2 separate regions of the Homo sapiens genome follow, and region 1 is linked to region 2. Evidence: promoter capture Hi-C in 16 types of primary human blood cells and fetal thymus (Javierre and others, 2016). All regions are on one chromosome and are shown on one strand. The core of a region is centred on a gene start or on the middle of the fragment in contact, and the rest is flanking DNA. Distances in the headings are between cores, read along the strand shown. Region 1 overlaps PDLIM7 (PDZ and LIM domain 7). Region 2 holds the start of RAB24 (RAB24, member RAS oncogene family).

Region 1 (2,706 bases), core at 68-2,567, 180 kb after region 2:
CTTCCAAAGTGCTGGGATCACAGGCATGAGCCACCATGCTAACTACCCTTCCTAACTACCCTTCTCTAACCTCCAAGCCAGGCCAGACCAGTGGCTCCCCTCATGTCTGTGGGCACCGGGCCTGGCACATGGGGTCTCGCCTGTACCTCCTCCACTAACCATGAGCCCGCCATGTCTGCATCACGAGGACCACCCAGATGGCCAGCCCAAGAAAACCATCTTACTCTCCACCCTGCCACGTGCCTCAAATTCTGCCCCTCCGGATGCACAGGGGAAGGGCACACAAGACACAGCTGGGTACAGGTTTATTGTGGCACTGGAGGTGAAAGGGGGCTGGTGTGGCCAGCACCGGTGTGCTGTGGTGGTGGAGGGAGTGGGGTGGGAGGATAAGGTGGGTGGGGCAGGGCCCAGGGAGCCCCAGGCTCGGGCCAGGAGCCAGGGTTAAGGCAACCATTGCCAGCCCTACCCAGAAATGCAGGGCCACGACTCCAGGCCCCTCAGGCTAGGGGCCACCGCGGCAGCTGTGGGCAGAAGGGGCTCACACATGAGAGAAGGCATGGCTCTTGCAGAGAGGCCTGTCCTTCTTGGAGTAGAAGGTCTTTCCTTCCAGGTTGATCTGACATATCTAAGGACAGCAAAGGCCCAGTCACATGGGGTTGGGGGCAGCAGGAGAGGCCCCTTCCCAACTTCTCCTGCATCTCCTGGGGAATGAACAGAGGGCCGGTGGGCTTGGGGCTCAGTTCGAGGGGCGGGGCTCTCACCGCACAGACGAAGCAGGTGTCATGCCAGCTGAAGCCCAGGGCCTCCAGGAAGCGGTCCCCAGCGTCGATCTTGAAGTCACAGCCATGGCATTTCGTGCCAAACATCTTCTCATAGTCTGAGAATGGGGGCAGAGAGAAAGAGGACCTGGATTCATGCCTGCCCCATGCACCATCCCTCCTCACCCTCACTGGCCAGTGGGTACCTCGCTCGCAATAGGGCACGCCCTCCTCCATGTAGAAGGCCCTGTTCCGGATGGGCGTCTTGCAGGCAGCACAGGTAAAGCAGTGCACGTGCCAGGTCATCTTCAGGGCGTGCATGATCTCCTGGAAGGAGGTCCCAGTCACTCGGCAGGCTCAGGCCCCTCCTGCCCTGCCCTGGGTCACGGGAACACAGGAGGGCTGGCCGCAAGCCCTGTTCCTTCTCGCGGTAAACACTACATCTAACTGTTCAGGACTCCCACACCTCCATCTCCAACTCCAAGGTCTCTGAGTGGACGACCACTGCGCCTTCAGACTTGCCATGTCCAGCACTCAGTTCCTGATTCCCTCACCCCAAACCTCTCCTCCCACAGCCATCCCCATCACGCGGATGGCAACTCCATTCTCCTGTCTGCTGCAGCCAAACACACCCTCCTCTCACACCCCACACCAGGTCCACCAGGAAATCCAGTGGGGCCCACCCCCAAGGCACATCCAGATTCTGAGTGCTTCTCACAGCCTCCCTGAAGTGAGGTAAGCCATGGCCATCTGGCCCGTGGGACCACATAACAACTGGCCTACAAGCTCCTCTCTCTGATCCCAGCTGCCACAGCGTGCCCCTGCAACCCAAGACAGGCCTTCTCCCCCTGCATGAAACTGTGTACTGCTTCCCATTGCTCCCAGCAAGAGCCAAGCCCCATGCAGAGGCTGGAGGCCAGCAGGTCTGACCTCGTTCCCAACCGTCTCCGCCACTGCTCTCCCTTGCGTTCTCACCTTGCCTCTGCACACTGGCCTCTTGCCTGAAACTGGCACACCAGGCACACTCCTGTCCTGGGCTTGACACCGGCTGTCCCCTCTGCCTGGACTGCTCTGCCCCAGATATCTCTAGGCTCACCCCTCACCCCCTTCAAGTTTCTGCTCGAATGCAGTCTTCTCCATGAGGGCCCACTCTGACCACACCAGCAGCAGCCAGCTGCCTTCCCTGCACCACGCACCCCAGCACTTGTCGCTCTGCTCTTTCCTGTTTTCCGTAACGTGATCTAACATTACTTCCAGGCAACCTACTTATTGCGCTTATTGCTTACAGTCTGCCTCTCCCCTCTTCTTCCAGCCAAAATGTAAGGCCCAGAAGGGCAGGAAGCATCAACTGTTTTGTTAGCTGATCTATCCCCACAGTGCCTGGCCCTTTGTGGGTGAGTCGACTGGCCTCCGCAGGAGGTGGGAAGGGGCAGAGGCACAAGGGGCTGAGCTCTCCCTGGGCTGGGCTGTTCATCCCTAGGACCCTCGGGGCCAGCCGGGGCCAGCCAGGGCCAGCAGTATTCACATCTGGAGCAGGCAGAGGGCAGCATGGGGCCTCGAGGCGGTATGAGGGTCCAAGATGTGTGGGTCTGGCCAGACCTTGACCTTCTCAAGTCTTGGTTTCTTCCCTTGTGAACTGGGAAGCTAATCCCAGCCTTGTGAGGCTGTTATGAGGATGGCCCTGAGTTTAAATCCAGGGATCCCAGATCCAATCCCTGCAAGGGCCAAGTGGGGACTGTGTCACACGGAGGAGGACCTCTTCTTCTGGGAGCAGTACTACTGGTTCATTCAGGAATGCCTGCCTGGCTCAGGCTGAAATCTAGGTGTTAAAGAGAAATCTGCTGGGCGCAGTGGCTCACGTCTGTAATCCCAGTGCTTTGGGAGGCCAAGGTGGGAGGATCGCTCGAGGCCAGGAGTTCGAGACCAGCCTGGGCAACATAGCAAAACC
Region 2 (2,700 bases), core at 201-2,700:
CACAGTTCAAGGAGGCCAGGAAGACCTCCTAGAGCACCTTGCCCTGGCAGCCAAGGCAGTCCCTATTTTCTTTGATCCACCCAGACAGCCACACACCCCCACCCCCCAAAGGGCTGAGGAGCAGCTACTGTCTGCATAGTCCTGGACGTCGTGGAAGTCCACACGTCGACGCCTCCGGTCTTCTTCCAGCAGGTCACTCTTGGTGCCACATAAGTAGATTTGGCAGCCCTGAGGCAGAAGACAAGGGTCACCTCCACAGGCCAACAAAACCCCAGCCCCTAGTGTTCTAGTGAGGTCTGTTCACCTACCTCCTCTAGGCTGCGCAGTTCCTTCACCCAGAACTTTGCTCGCTCAAAGCTGCTGCTGTCTGTGAGGTCTTGGTGTGCGGCATGCAGGAGACAACCAAGTGGTCAAGGGCTGTTCTCTGGCTAGCCTGGCACCCATCTTTTCTTGTGAGACAGCCCAAACCCCCCCCCCCCTTACCATAGCAGACGATGGCAGCCTTGGCACCCCGATAGTAGATTCTACTCATGGCCTCATAGCGCTCAGAGCCTGCTGTGTCCTAAAGAGTAAGGCCTGAGTCAAACTTAAGGCCACGTTCTCCAGACCCCGCTATTTTCCAGATAAGGAAACGGGTCTATGAGAAATGGGTCTGTGAGGCCACAAATCAACCAGTAATAGGCAGGACCTACACCTCCTCAGGAATGAGTCTCCCAAGAATAGATGGCCGGGGGACTTACCCAAATACCTAATGTCACAGTCCGGTCTCCGACCGACATCACCTTGGCCACGAAGGCGGCCCCGATGGTCTGCAACGAGAGGGAAGAGATCGGGGCCATAGGTGCAGATTACCGGCCCCCCACTCCCCCGCCCACCGTGCCTGGCCCCTCCGGATGCACTCACGTTCTGATAAGGCCCCACCAGAAAGCGGTCGTGCACGTAGCGCTCCACCAGGCTAGTCTTGCCCACGTACTCCTTGCCCAGCATCACCACCTTGACGTCCACGCGCTGCCCGCTCATGCTCCCGGGGCCGCTTCAGCCACGTCAGGGTCCTGAGCGGGGACGGGAGGCAAACCCCGATCTCCGCTCGGCCCAGGCAGCGCCCAAGCCTCAGACCCCGACCCCAAACGGCGCCAACCTACGACTCCAGACAGCGCGTCGGGCTCGAGCTCTGGCCGTGGCCTTGCACTTCGGCAGCGCCCCGTGTGCCCCCGCTGTTCGGCCCCGGGCGCCGATTATCCTTCGAAGACCCCAAGCCTCGGGGCGGCCTGGGAGCGCGCGGGACAGCGTCCTCAACAGCGCAGCACGCCGCCGTGCAGCTCGCTACTCCGTCATTCGCTCGCCTGCCCGGCTTAAGCTCCGTTCTGGCTGGGAATCCCAACCGAACCTGGGGTCTCCCGCAACCCGGCTCCTACCCGCAGCGCCGCGACTCCCGCGGGAGGGGGCTAGAGGGCGAGGGGGCGGGGCCGCAAGGTCACGTGGCGCGGGCGCCGGAAGCGGTGGCTACTGTGTGGCTGCGCCGGAAGTGGCGCGCGGCCGGACAACTCATGGCGGCGGCGGCGGCGGCGGCAGCTGCTTGGGCGCGGTGCGGTGGTGACTGAGCTACGAGCCTGGCGGCGGGTGTGCGCCGAGCCCCGGCCCGGCCCGGCCCTCGCGTGCCTCCCAGGCTCCGCACCCCTGATGCTGCGCGGGTGCTGAGCCCGCTTCGGCCGGGACGATGGTGAAGTATTTCCTGGGCCAGAGCGTGCTCCGGAGTTCCTGGGACCAAGTGTTCGCCGCCTTCTGGCAGCGGTACCCGAATCCCTATAGGTACGTGGTATTTGGAAGAGCAAAACCGCGCCATCTCGCTATCTGGAGATCGAATTATGGGTAACCCCCAAGTACTGGGACCAGGAAGGACTCGATATCGAATCCTAGGTAGACCTTATCGGGGAAGCGGCCAGGCCAGGCCTGCAAGGTCCTGAAGGGAGGTTGGGCCTGGGTGGTGGTTTACTTGAGACCTTAGTGTAAGATTCTTTTCTCAGTGTGGTGAGACAAGAAGAGGCGGCAGTATGGGAGTTGGGAGGGATCTTGGAGTTGGAAATCCTATTTCTCTGCCCGTGGCGCTTTCCTGGGGTGCAATAAATCATGAGGTCCATTCCTGCTAGAAGGCAGGAATCCAGGTCAGTCAGATGGCGGGAGTGGGAATTTGCCCTGGGATGGGCCCTTAACTCTGGTTTGAACCATAGCACATACCACCCTGCAAGGTTACGGGAAGGCGTGGCCTCTCTAGGCCCGGAGCCTCCAAATGGGAATCCCCTCGGGCAGTCTCTTAGGGGCAAGCTTCTGAGGGTCACCTTCACCCTGACACCTGCAGCAAACATGTCTTGACGGAAGACATAGTACACCGGGAGGTGACCCCTGACCAGAAACTGCTGTCCCGGCGACTCCTGACCAAGACCAACAGGATGCCACGCTGGGCCGAGCGACTATTTCCTGCCAATGTTGCTCACTCGGTGTACGTCCTGGAGGACTCTATTGTGGACCCACAGAATCAGACCATGACTACCTTCACCTGGAACATCAACCACGCCCGGCTGATGGTGAGACACCTCCTGTTGTGATTCTGCACCTCCCCCTCTCCCCTCCCCCCGAGATAGAGAGCTCCTCAGATACATGTGGCTAGAGAGCCATAAGGCAGCTTTTGTGGCCGGAGGCAGG

What was found. The method cuts DNA at HindIII sites, captures the fragments that hold promoters and counts their contacts. A CHiCAGO score of 5 or more calls a contact.
Region 1: a contact is called between a fragment that was not itself captured here and the fragment with the promoter of RAB24 in region 2, in 2 of 17 cell types (non-activated CD4 T cells and monocytes). The highest score is 6.5, in non-activated CD4 T cells.

Annotation. Positions count from the first base shown.
Region 1 is chr5:177,483,106-177,485,811 of GRCh38, forward strand. It overlaps PDLIM7 (PDZ and LIM domain 7), which reads right to left. Exons shown (of 13, transcript NM_005451.5): 11 at 965-1,085; 12 at 762-877; 13 at 289-625. The coding sequence ends at 539. Among named protein-coding and RNA genes, the nearest start is that of DBN1, 11 kb to the left of the region's middle. RefSeq lists enhancers at 911-1,626, 1,627-2,342. The HindIII fragment of the contact is 7,991 bases long and covers 1-2,706 here.
Region 2 is chr5:177,302,269-177,304,968 of GRCh38, forward strand. RAB24 (RAB24, member RAS oncogene family) reads right to left here and starts at 1,451. Exons shown (of 8, transcript NM_001031677.4): 1 at 904-1,451; 2 at 741-809; 3 at 484-562; 4 at 309-376; 5 at 129-228. The coding sequence starts at 1,020. PRELID1 (PRELI domain containing 1) reads left to right here and starts at 1,531. Exons shown (of 5, transcript NM_013237.4): 1 at 1,531-1,809; 2 at 2,357-2,582. The coding sequence starts at 1,718. RefSeq lists enhancers at 1-341, 1,506-2,383, 2,022-2,121, 2,232-2,281, 2,302-2,361 and 2 more and silencers at 1,342-1,411, 1,462-1,541, 1,652-1,791. The HindIII fragment of the contact is 8,255 bases long and covers 1-2,320 here.